Regions from separate parts of the Homo sapiens genome. Here all the other regions are linked to region 1. The links are contacts of gene promoters, found by promoter capture Hi-C in blood cells and fetal thymus (Javierre and others, 2016). All regions are on one chromosome and are shown on one strand. The core of a region is centred on a gene start or on the middle of the fragment in contact, and the rest is flanking DNA. Distances in the headings are between cores, read along the strand shown. Region 1 holds the start of LPIN1 (lipin 1). Region 2 holds the start of ITGB1BP1 (integrin subunit beta 1 binding protein 1). Region 3 holds the start of KIDINS220 (kinase D interacting substrate 220).

What was found. Contacts are between HindIII fragments. The CHiCAGO score rates a contact against its expected background, and 5 or more counts as called.
Region 2: a contact is called between the fragment with the promoter of ITGB1BP1 here and the fragment with the promoter of LPIN1 in region 1, in 2 of 17 cell types (naive CD8 T cells and total CD8 T cells). The highest score is 6.2, in naive CD8 T cells.
Region 3: the fragment with the promoter of KIDINS220 here is called in contact with the fragment with the promoter of LPIN1 in region 1 in 4 of 17 cell types (naive CD4 T cells, naive B cells, non-activated CD4 T cells and 1 more); the score reaches 12.0 in naive CD4 T cells.

Annotation. Positions count from the first base shown.
Region 1 is chr2:11,744,699-11,748,562 of GRCh38, forward strand. It overlaps LPIN1 (lipin 1), which reads left to right and starts at 1,934. Exons shown (of 21, transcript NM_001349206.2): 1 at 1,934-1,973. LOC124907735 (a long non-coding RNA gene) reads right to left here and starts at 761. Exons shown (of 2, transcript XR_007086220.1): 1 at 1-761. RefSeq lists enhancers at 101-674, 3,186-3,857 and a silencer at 1,613-2,182. The HindIII fragment of the contact is 2,521 bases long and covers 349-2,869 here.
Region 2 is chr2:9,422,191-9,426,369 of GRCh38, forward strand. It overlaps ITGB1BP1 (integrin subunit beta 1 binding protein 1), which reads right to left and starts at 1,338. Exons shown (of 7, transcript NM_004763.5): 1 at 1,183-1,338. CPSF3 (cleavage and polyadenylation specific factor 3) reads left to right here and starts at 1,464. Exons shown (of 18, transcript NM_016207.4): 1 at 1,464-1,633. The coding sequence starts at 1,584. RefSeq lists enhancers at 1-647, 641-690, 1,561-1,610, 1,651-1,700 and a silencer at 831-1,130. The HindIII fragment of the contact is 3,929 bases long and covers 1-1,991 here.
Region 3 is chr2:8,834,792-8,838,967 of GRCh38, forward strand. It overlaps KIDINS220 (kinase D interacting substrate 220), which reads right to left and starts at 2,822. Exons shown (of 30, transcript NM_020738.4): 1 at 2,689-2,822. RefSeq lists silencers at 2,879-2,938, 2,949-2,998. The HindIII fragment of the contact is 383 bases long and covers 2,650-3,032 here.

The DNA of each region.
Region 1 (3,864 bases), core at 684-3,183:
AGCCTTTCCACATAGAGTAGACTTCTTCCCAGGCCAGCTCCTCCCTGGAGGTGGGAGGGGAGGGTGCAGGAGGGCTTCCTTCTGGGGCCTTGCAACCTCAGCAGTTTTGGGCAGCCGTGATGCACTTGAAACTCTGGTCTCTGAGAAAACCCCTGTGGAGGTAGCTCACCTACAAACTGCAAGATTCTCTTTGTGTAGCTCCCACGTCTGCAATGTCAGCATGGGACAGGCTGCCTAGATAGGAGCTGCCCCAAGCCCAGCGGGAGCGTGTCCACACTTGACCAGATGGACGGGAGCCGCGCCCCTGGACAAAGCTCTCCAAGCAGCTGTCCCCAAACATCTATCTCAAGCTTGCTGGCTTATCCAATTCACTAAGCTGCCGCATTCGATGCTGTTTCTAAGCTGGCCTCCTCCCTGGCCCTCTGCATCTCAGCAGAGCAGCGGTTCCATCTCCACACTGAGACTTGCCTTTGAGTATCGCATCACACACCTCCACCGGTTCCATTCATCAGTAAGCCTGTGGGTTTTGCCTCCAAATCTCTCTGAAGTCCTTCCGCTTCTTGCTGAGTAGCCCCTGTAATCTGAGCCACCATCATGTCCCCCGGTTTCCTGCAGTGCCACCTGTCTGCTGGCTTCTACTCCTGCAGTCCATTTTCCATGGAGTGGAGGGGTGACTTTTTAAAGAAGTAAATTAGATCATATAATTCCCAGGTTTAAAATTCTTTTTGGACCAGGCGTGGTGGTTCACACCTGTAATCTCAGCACTTTGGGAAGCCAAGGTGGGAAGACTGCTTGAGCCCAGCAGTTTGAGACCAGCCTGGGCAACATAGGGAGACCTGGTCTCTACAAATAGTTTGAAAAATTAGCTGGGCGTGGTGGCATGCACCTGTGGTCCCAGCTACTTGAGAGGCTGAGGCAGGAGGATTGCCTGAGGCCAGAAGGTGAAGGCTGCAGTGAACCGAGATTGTGCCACTGCACTGTAGCTTGGGTGACAGAGTGGGACCCTGTCTCAAAAAGAATTGGTTTGGAATAACATTTAAATAATACCTAAACTCCTTGCCTTGGCCTACAAGACCTGAATATTTGGCCCCTGCCTTCCCTCCAGCCCACAGCACCGGCCCCAGGACCTTTGCACCTGCCATTTCTGCTCTCCAGAAAGCCCTGCCTCCTCCCCATCTTTGTAGTCATAGGTGTTTCTTGTCATTTAGAGTTTCAGTTCAAATATGACACCCTCCCATTGATGGAAATCATTTCACCACCAGACGTTATGTGGCTCATTGTTTATCCGCTGCCTGCCTCCCGGCTGGAGAGGCGCAGGGAGCTGCCTGTCCCTCCTGTTCAGAGCCACCGTTCCGCACCTGGACCACCGCTTGGCAGAGGCGGGAGTGGAGGCTGTCACCATCAGGATGAAGGACAGGGGTGGCCCGGCGTGGAGAAGCTAAGAAGAGATGGCGATAGGTCAACGCGATTGCGCCTTTAAGGTGGAAGAAACGAAGGGCGAGGGTCAGTAAAGTCAAGGACGGGCTCAGATCCCGCCACTGGTGATAAGCGGGACCCATAGGACCGACGTGATCGCGGCCAGGCCCTGGGTGGTTTACCTGGACTTTTACCTGGCTGCCTTTTCTCTGCACCCCTCCGTCCTCACTCCCCCAGTCATCGGCATAGGTCAAGTCAGAGTGTTGAAGAAACACACGAGTTTGGCTCTGGAAAGGAAAATCAGAAAGGCGGCCTAAGGGGCCCCACCCCCAGGAACGCTAAGATAGGCGGCCAGGGGTGAGCGGGCAGGGCCGGCCAGCAGGCCCTGAAAGCAGCCGGGCCACCAGCGCGTCCCGAGTCCCCCTCGCACCGCCCCGCTTGCCCCGCCCCTGCCCTCTGCCCCCGCCCCTGCCCCGCCCCCGAAGGCGAGCTGCGCTGACAGCCGGCGGCGGGCTGGGTGTTTGCAATACAAAGGCGGCCACGCGCGGCGCCGCTCGGTGAGTAGCCGCCGCCTCCAGCCTCCCGCTGTGGAGCAGGGGCCGCAGCCTCGGGTTAGGCGGGGCGGGGCGCGGCGCCGGGGCGCTGAGGACGCGTGGCGAGGCGGGGGCTCGGCCCCGGGGCCCGAGGACCGACGGCCGGGCTACGTCCCCGGGGCCCTCTACGGGAAGTGGTTCGGGGGAGGGAGGCGGGGAAACAGGCCCCGGAGGCCGGGAGGGCCTCGCGAGCATCCCTCGGGCCTGGCTTTCCTGACGCGCCGCGAGGCCCGGTGTGGGCCCGGCTTGGCTGATCTCGAGCGGCGTAGGGGCCACTGGGGGCTGCCGCGCAGTCCCAGAACCGCGGGGACTAGCTCCAGCCGGCCAGCGCGGGTGCGTCCTGGCTCTGCGCGATCATCCCCAGCTTTGCGCCGGGGACTGGGATGAGAGCCTTTCTTTCCCCCGGAGTTAGGATTCCAGCGCTGCAGTTGAGGAAACTGAGGCTCAGGGAGGTTGACCTCTGTGCCCAAGGTCATACAGTTGCCGGGCGGCAGGGCAGGCTGAGCCCAGGTTGGAATCCCGGTTCTCATATTACAGCTCTCCCCTGCGAGGCCTCTGCACCTTTCTTGCAGCCTAGGAGGTGCTAGGCCTAGTGAGCTCCGTCAGCTGCTCCTGCACGTAATTTTATTATGGGCAAGGCCAGGAAAATGCAGGATGAGAAGTAACGTTTTGGGAGTAACTTAAGTGCTGTGGAGCTAGAGTAGGTAATTTGTGTGGTCAGTAGTTGCTGGAGAAAGCAGATGTCAACCCTGTTTTTGATCAGCAAGCAGGAAACCAACTAAGACAACTGGCAGTATTAATTTGGAGATGTTTTAGAACCCGGCAGTTTCCCACAGGATAGAAGTGTTTTGGGAAATCAAAGCTTGTAGCCGTTTTTTTAATTGGGGGTGTTGTGGTATGGTGGTCTAGGGGTAGTGATTGTGAGATTGACTGTTTATCCTTTGTTCCGTAATTTGGGTCTTATTAATGAAAGTAAGCAGTTGAGGAATGTATAGTATTTGAGAAATAAGCACATCCACACATGAACACTTTTCTTGCTCCCAGATTCTTGTTGAAAGGTGTAACAGTTGGATTTATGATTATATACTTTGATAGCACTTCACGTTTGCCAGCATTTGTTATTGAGTGTTTTTGTGCATGGGTTGTGTGTTTTGGCGCTTATTATTCCTATTTGCATGTGGGGCCCTGTGGTCCTGTGGAGCCAGGCCTGGATATAGCCCTGGACTCGGGTCGGGAGGTCTGGGCTCTGCCTGAGCTCTGTGGGACCCTGAGCGAGTTCTTTCACCCACCCAGGTCTCGCTTATCAGCAGTTCCTTTCTTTTAGAAAAGCACAGGGGGACAAGGGGCGGACCTGCTGAGTCTTGTGGTGTGGGAGAGAACGCGAGGGTTCAGGTGAGAGACCGCAGGGATTCCTGGTTGTAGGGGGGACCTTGGAAGTGACTGAGAAGGAGCCTGCCCTGGATTAGGTGGGGACAATTGGCCTGGCCCAGCCAGAAGGAAGTCTGTGGGTCCTGCTCTCCTGCTCTTTGCGTGGTCAGCTGCACAAAGGGCCCAGAACAGACGGCAGGGGAGGGTCAGGAGATGAAAAGATATTTCAGAAGAAGGTCCTGAGGCCACCGTGGTCTGAGATGCGCCGAGGCCGGCACAGAGCACTGGGCTTTGCAGTTGTTGTTCTGACCACTCACAGATGTAGAACTTGGGCAGAAGACTTCAATCCTCTGAGCCTCAGTTTTCCCATCTGTAAAATGAAGGGATAATCATACCCATTCACAGGATTGTTGCAAAAATTAATTGAGATAAAAAAGAGCCCCTGGAACATAATATGGGGTCCACGAATCATTGTGGTTGTTATGAT
Region 2 (4,179 bases), core at 88-2,587, 2.3 Mb before region 1:
TAAAATGATTTCTTTCAAACATGAATCTAATGCCACTAGCCTGCTGAAAATCTTTCACTGGTTCTCCAAAGTCAGAGACCAAAGTCAACGTTCTTCAGCACGACACGCCAGGTCCTCCAGGACCCAGCTCCTAATCACCTTTCCACTTCCATCCTCCACAACCCGGGCACAGTTCATTGATCTCAGCAAGGCAAAGCTGCTCCTGGTTCTCAGCGCGATGCTCCACGCGCCCCTGCTTTGCACCGCCCGGGACGTCCTTCACCTGTCAGGCACTTGGCTACTTCTTACCTTTCAAGGCCCGTTTCAGGCTGCAGGCCTTCCTGGGATCTCAAGGCTGGGGTAAGGGACCCACAGCTTGAGTGTACCCCCTGATCACAGCGCCACGATCTGCTGTGGTCTCTGATCTCACTCTCCCAGCTGCACGCTGGTCAAAGGCGGAGCTCGGTGACTCCTCTGCATTGCCAGGGCGCCTGGCAGGGGACGCGCTTACTGAAGCCGAGAACTTTCTGGGGAGGTGACACCCCAACAGCGATTCCCATGTACCAAACGCCTACCACGTGCCATGCACGGTGCTAGGTGCACAGATCCCTCTCACCCTCACCCTCACCGACCAGCAAGGCTGCAGGATAACAGCCCCTTTCAAACGAGGATGCCAAAGCGCCCGAAGAGTCAGTGACCTGCCCAGGGTCACCAGAGTAAGGACGGATGCGGCCAAGCTCGGGGCCTAGGGAGAGCCGGCTCCGAAGTTCCTCCCAGACGCCAGCCTGCTTGGCACCTGTCTGTCACCGTGATGGAGCACCTTCCAAGCGCTGGGTGCGGAGGATGTGACAGCGAAGGGGACAGACAACCCCGACCCTGAGAGGCGGGAGGCGGCCGAAGCGGGGCAGAGGAAGAGGCAAGGAAACGGCCCGCGGCCGCCCGCCTTGCCGCCCCTCCGGGGCGACAGCGGCTCGGGAAGCTGCAGTCCGCAAGCCCACGCCCGATCTGCGTGGTTCCAAGCTCCTCCACCCGCGCCCCGGGAGCGCGGCCCCGCCCGGAACCAAGCCCGAGCCCAGGCATCCCTCCTCCGCCCGCCCCGCGGCCCCACCCATCCTTCCTGGCCGTCCGCGCCGCTCTCGGGACCGTGTTCCCGTCAGGCCTCCGCGAGCTCGGCCCCAAGCGGGACGAGGGCTGGGCGCTCACCTCGCAGCCGCGGGCCCATCCCCGGGTTGCGGACTTCGGGGTCCGCGTGGGAGTGCCGCGGCCTTTGGCGCCCAGGCAGCTACTCCCGTTCCCGCTCCAGCGCCGGCTTTTCCAGCCCTCCTGCCCACGTCCGCCGGGCCGCGCCTCCAAGACTATGCGCAGGCGCAGTCCTGACGTCCTACCCCCGGTTCCAAGACCCCAAGTGGTGGGAAGCCTCGCGAGCGGCGTCCCCCGACCGGAAGTCGAGGGGAGGAGTCTAGTGCCGCGGGCTCCGGAGTGACGGAAGTTGTGCTCTTGGTGAATGGGGTTCTTCCTTTTTTATTTACCGGTGGCTGTGCTTCCAATTTAGGAAGACCCCGGCGACCTGTTCCTCACCCCCGCTTCGCCCTCACACTTTCGGGATGTCTGCGATTCCTGCTGAGGAGAGCGACCAGCTGCTGATCCGACCCCTGTAAGGGACCAGCGAGAGAGGGAATGAAGCCACGGGCTGTGAGGGGCGCGAGGGGTAACCGGAGACTGGCCTCCTCCGTCGCCCGCGCTCCCACCTACCCCGGCAGCCTGCCTTTGGTCCGCGCTTGCGGGCCAGGCTTCTCAGGCTCGAGGGGTTGGAGGACCGTTGATCGGAAGGGGCCTGCTATAGAGTGAACGGGATTTTGCTTTTTCATCAGTTTCAGGGGAGGGTATGTTGGAGTCGGAAAAAAAAAAGTTTTACGGGGCCACCGCTCGCTTTCGTACACGCTAAGAAGCGTTTTCACTTAGCACAAGCACGGATCTCTGCGCGTCAGGGCAAGCTGTGAGGGAGCCGGTGAAGCTTATGACCGACAGGATGAGAGGAGGACCTGAATGAGGCTACAGCCGTGCAGGGAAGAATTAAGTCTGTTTCTTAACACCAGGGCTTCACATGTGCCAGAAGTTAGAAAATATTAGGGACTTGCCGTGAGTTTCGATCTTCTCAGCTCAGGCCCTAGTAGAATAAGGAAGGTGTAAAGCTGGAGAAGAGAAAGTGCAGAGGTGTTAGGGACAAAAACTCAGCCCTCGACTGTCCATAAGGAGAGTGGCCTTTCAGTGGACACGATCCTCATCAGTCGGGAATGCTGCTGAAGGGGAGATGCAAATGTAGAGAACTTGAATTCCTACAGATGAGCATTTCGAACCCACAACATGTTTATTGTTAGATACTAGTTGGCACAACATGAATATACGCTTTCCAAAAGGTAGAAAGTATCTCCTTTACACAATCATTCAGTAAGGCTTCATTGAGCACCTGCTTGGGACATAGTCCGTTTCCTTCTGCTTAGTTCACACCTGTCATGTCTTCCTGTGATGAGCAAACACTGAGCAAGTGTCAAGCACCACACATGGGGATATAGACGCAACAGAGGGCCCAGTTAATTGCTCTCGCTCTTTTGGAGAGAATTACAGTGCACAGTGGGAAATATTGGAGAGATACTTTGGAATAATAGGAGACTATTACTTTGAAGTCAGACCTGAAGTCCATTATCTACTTGACCAATTAGTAGGACAACAATCTCACTGAACCCGTTTTCTCATATGGAAATAAGATAAAACTTGAAGAGTGAACATCGCGGTAGGTGCTTTGTAAATAATAGCTAATCTAAGAACGCAGGCAGGCATTGCACTGAGCACTGTGAAAGTATGGAAAAGGGATTTCTGACAGATTGAGGAAAAAAGGATACCTCGTGGATCCTGAAAAATGTGATGCCTGAGCTGAGTCCTAAAGAATGAGTAGGAGTTAAAGACTGGGGGGCCCAGGATGTTCTAGGCAGTGGAAGTGGCACATATGAAAGTGAGAGTGGTCACAGCTTGTGGCCAGATTCCTCATGGCTGTAGCTAAAGAGTTGAGTTAGCAGATGAAGCGACAGGCAGTTGAGGTCCAGTTTAGGAAGCACCTCGTATACACAGGAGTTTGGACCTTTATCAAGTCAATTACAGGGAGCCAGCGAAGGCTATTAAGCAAGCATGGATATTGTGGGAATTATGTTTTAGGAAAATCTCTCCTGGCAGCAGTGTAGCAGATGAATAAAAGCATGGATGAATAAAAGCATGGATTGAGTAGAGCAGATTCAGTGAGATATTGAAAGATTCTAAGTCTAGCTGACGAGAGCCTGTAGTGAGTGATGTGAGTGTGAGAGAGTATGCAAATGAGATCTTCAGGATTTTGTGGCTGATCAGCTGTATCTGGAAGGGTGGTTGTGGGGAGGGAAGGCAGGGCAGAGAGGATGTTATGATCAGATTCCTAAGTTTGGCAGTTGGGAAAGGGTAGTGTTATTCACTCAAGGAGTATAAGAGATGGGGCAACTCTGGAGTAAATTTGGGAATTTGGTTGTTTCGTAACAGCTTTATTGAGATACAGTTTACATACCATACAACTCACAATTTACATACCATACAACTCATTTAAAGAGTATAATTCAGTCGTTCTTAACATAGAGTTATACAACCATCACCTCTCTCTAATTCCAGCACATTTTCATCACTCCCAAGAGATACCTTGTATTCATTAGCAGTCATAGACAATCCCCACTACCTCTCCAGCCCTAAGCAACCACTAATCTACTTCTTTATAGATTTGCCTGTTCTGGACATTTCATGTAAGTGTGATCATACAATACATACTCTTTTGTCTCTGGCATCTTTCATTTAGCATAATCTTTCCAAGGTTCAAAATTGAGGAGTTTTGTTCATTCAATAAGTATTTTTTGTGATGTGCTACATGCCAGGTACTGTAGCAATACAGCAGTGAATAAGATGGACAATGCCTCTGTTCTTAGGAAGCTTTCATTTAGTAGCCTGAAAGAAGACATAAGTAGGTACAATAACTTCATGTAGTTGTATTAAGATAACTGATGCTGGGTTGTGGCTTGCTGTGAAGGGCAAATTAGAGGAGGTAGTCAAGGGAAAGCATCTGAGAAGGTGACGTTGGAACTGAGACCCAAATGATACAAAGGAGCCAACCACATCAATATCTGAAGACAA
Region 3 (4,176 bases), core at 1,572-4,071, 2.9 Mb before region 1:
CACCTATAAACTAACTTATGTATGTATATGTATGTATGTATGTATGTATTTAGTTATTTATTTTTATTGAGACAGGGTCTGGCTCTATTGCCCAGGATGGAGTGCAGTGGCACATTCATAGCTCACTGCAGACTCAAACTCCTGGACTCAAGCGATCCTCCTGCCTCACCCTCCCTGAATAGCTGGGACTACAGGTGCATGCCAACACACCCAGATCATTGTTTACATTTTTAATTTTTGTAGAGACAGGACTTGCTATATTGCCGAGGCTGCTCTTGAACTCCTAGCCTGAAGTGATCCTCCTGCCTTAGCCTCCCAAAGCACTGAGATTACAGGTGTGAGCCTGCATGCCCAGCCTTGAACTAATTTATTAAGGGCTGTCTCTCTCCTTCATTCTTACATCCCCAGAACCTATTACAGATCTAGAACAGGTAGAAACTTAATAGATAACCATCAAATTAAATAACTGCATAGGTATGCTAAAGATACCTCTTCTGAAGGACTTTGCCCACCCACAGCCCCTGCTACCCTCAACAGCCATGTTCTCTAGCATCAGCCATTCCCAGGGATGGGCATATGATCTGTGGCATGAAACTGTTGAAAAAGATAAGCTGGGCCAATCAGACTTCTCTCTCTAGAACTGGGAATTAGAAACCAGAGACTGGGCCAATCAATATGGGTCACACATAAAATGATACAGTTCTGAGACAGCCAATCAGCAAAGAGAGAATACAACAGATATGAACAGAAAAGAGACTCCTCCTAAGTAAGAGAACAAATGTGGCCCCTAAGAGGAGGTCAGGGCTGCAGTGAGCCAAGATCACACCACCTGCACTCCAGCCTGGGCAACAGAGCCAGACCCTGTCTCAAAAAAAAAAAAAAAAAAAAAAAGTTGCCCCAGGGAGATGTAGAAAATGGAGGTACCTGGGATCCTGACTTCTTTCTGACTCTCATTCAATCCTATTATCTCCTTTTCCTTGAAGTAAAAGGTTTAAGTTTCTACTGTCTTCTAAACAGCCCTGACAAATACAGTAGCACATAAAATGGAGAAACTGACCGTTCTTGAGCAAAAGCAGGAAGAAGGGGATGGCACATTCATACATGATCCTATAAAAATTAATCTGGCAGTGTATGTGACCCAGACTGGAAAAATACAAAGAATCAGGGCCCTAGATACCAGTCAAGGAATCACCAGACAGTACACAAGAGAGGCAGTGGGAATAGAGAAGAAATGAGGGATATTAACTTGAAAAATATAAAATCCCTGACATTTGAACTTTCTGAACTACCAAAATATCCAGAAGAGATATTCTGGATATAAAGATAAAACTATGTGACTGGTTGGAAAAGAAAACAGGTGGAAGATGACCAGATGCCCAGCATAGGTGACTGAAGAATGGAGCTGCCCTTAACCAAAAAAAAAAAAGCAGGAGAAAGAGCAGACTTTTCTCTACTTAAGTTATGCCTCCTCCCTTCCACCACCCCAGCTGGGCGAATGGGGCTTTGGCCAGGCTGAATTTGAAGTGTCCCAAAAGAACTAGGTTGGAGAAACCCACCCAATACTTGGAAAAAGATACCGTTCACACTGTGTGTGAATGATCTGGAAATTATTCACACAAAGGGTGTAGAACAAGGATTCTCAAACTTGTGTGCACCAAAATTATTTGGGAAGCTTGTCAAATACACATATCCCTTGAGCTCCTCCCCGGGAGAATCCCATTCCCTAGATCTGGGGTGGTGCCCAGAAACTGACATTTTAACAAGCACCCCAAAATGATTCTGATGAAAGTAGTCCATGCTAGTAAAGCTAGAAGAGAACAAAGAACACACCTGGCCACGGCATTTCCCAACCTGGGCTCTGCACTCAATACCCCACGGTGGTTTAAAAAGGTGTAGATGTCTGGTCCTCAGTGTTGTCAAAATGTGGACAGGAACGAACCTGAAGGGGTGATTCCCGAGCCACACCTCAGGCCGAAGGAATGGGAATCTCTAAAACGCTAAGAAATCTACATTTTTAACAAGCGCCCATAGGGAGCAGAGATGGCTGCATAGTTATTCATAAAAAAATTTTTCATCGGTTTAAACCTGTCAACTTGAAAGAATAAAAATTCCAACATTACAAAGTGATGAAGAAATTATTTCCCTATAAATAAATCTTGGAGGCGTGGAAATCAATGGCTTGCACTATTTTGCCAGGCGTTTAAAAGCCTGCACAGGACAATGGAGCAATGGAGCCCACGATAAAAGCAAGGGAGAAAACAACACCTCCCGGCCCGTGGAAGCCTAGGAGGAGGAACCTAGAAAGACTAGCGGTACCAGCTAAGGGGGCTCTCAAGGTGGTGGATGTGCCAGAGGCTGCTTGGCAAAAGAAAAAAAACGGTTTTACCAACACCCTTCACCCCAACCCACCCGAGGGGCCCCTCAGGAGACAGACCACCAGAGACTCCAAGGTCGGAGACCTTCCCGGCGCTCCAGGAAACGCGGACTCGCCCCGAAAGCCGGGGCCCGAGCGTCCGGGGCCCGCGCCATGCCCTCCCCGGGACCCCCGGTCCGAGCTCGCCCCTTCCGCGCACTCCTCGGCTGTCCCACCTCCCCGCCCGACTCCCCGAGCCCGGCCTCGCCCCCGACTCCTCCCCAATCCCGCGGCAAAGCTTCGCGGACCGGCCTCCACACTGACGGTCTCCCAACCTGGTCCTCAGCTCCGGCGGAACGGGCCCGCTCGGCTGCAGGCGATGTCAGAGGACGGGGAAGCAAGAGACGGCGACTGCAAGCGCGTCGCCCTCACCACACCCGGCGGCCATATTCTTCCCTCTCCGCGAACTGACAGATCACGTGCCCTGGGTAGGGGAGGGACTCCGGGTTGCCACGCCCCCTGGGCGTGGAGGGGAGGGGCGGGGCGGGGCGTAGAGCAGGCGGGGCTGGAGGGGCCGCGGGGCGGGGACACCCAGGACAAGCGCCCCAGGCAAGGTTTTTCAGTGTCAATGTCACTCTTATTACAGTTAATTTATTATCCCTATTTTCCATTATAATCAAGCTTATTCAGAGAAATAAACATCAATTATATCTTCAGAAGAAACTGCACATACATAAGAAATGAAAGCCCGCTCAGCAGCCTTCTTCCGGATCCAGGAGCGAGACCTCTGCCTTTCGCGGGGCCTGTAGTTCACACTCCTTCCAGGTCTCCCAGCACCTCCCCTCACCTCCTTCAGCCTCCACATTCCTAGGCCTTGCTGCCAACAAGCGTCAATCTTGATTTTTGAAAAGGTCCAAGGATGATTACGACGTGCGTAGGTTGCGAACCATCGAAAAGCACCCACCAATGTGTCAACCTGGCAACTCAGGAAAAAGCCAATAAGGAGCCTGACTTCATCAGAAGTTGGTGCGGGGTGGGGACAATGGCTCACTCCTGTAATCCCAGCATTTTGGGAGGCCAAGACGGAGGATCACTTGAGCTCAGGAGTTTGAAACCAGCCTGGGCAACATGGAGAGACCTCTTCTCTACAAAAAAAAAAAAAAAAAAAAAAAATACAAAAATACAAAACTTAGCCAGGCGTGGTGTTGCACACCTGTAGTCCCAGCCACTTAGGAGACAGAGGTGAGAGGATCACTTGAGCCCAGGAGTTCGAGGCTGCAGTGAGCTGAGATCACACCACTGCACTTCAGCCAGGGCAACAGGGCAAGATCCTATCTCCAAACAAACAAACAAACAAACAAAAACGGAAGTTGGTGTGCCCCTCATGAAACAAGGAGCGAACACCCCAACGTGTACAGTGGAGTCCTAAATGGTGTGATTTCTTCGATAATGACTTGCTAAGGCCAGCCACTGTTGTAAACAGGGCAGGGTGGGTCAGGCGTTGGGGGTTAGAAGTATGGTAGGTGTATTAGCCCGTTTTCACACTGCTATAAAGAACCACCTGAGACAGGGTAATTTATAAAGAAAAGAGGTTTAATTGACTCACAGTTCTGCATGGCTGGAGAAGCCTCAGGAAACTTAAAATCATGGCGGAAAGGGAAGCAAACACGTCCTTCGTCACATGGCTGCAGGAAGAGAGGTGCCCAGCAAAAGGGTCAAAAGCCCCTTTTACATCCAACAGATCTCGTGAGAATTCACTCACTATCACGAGAACAGCACGGGGGAAACCGCTGACGTGATCCAATCACCCCCGACCAAGTCCC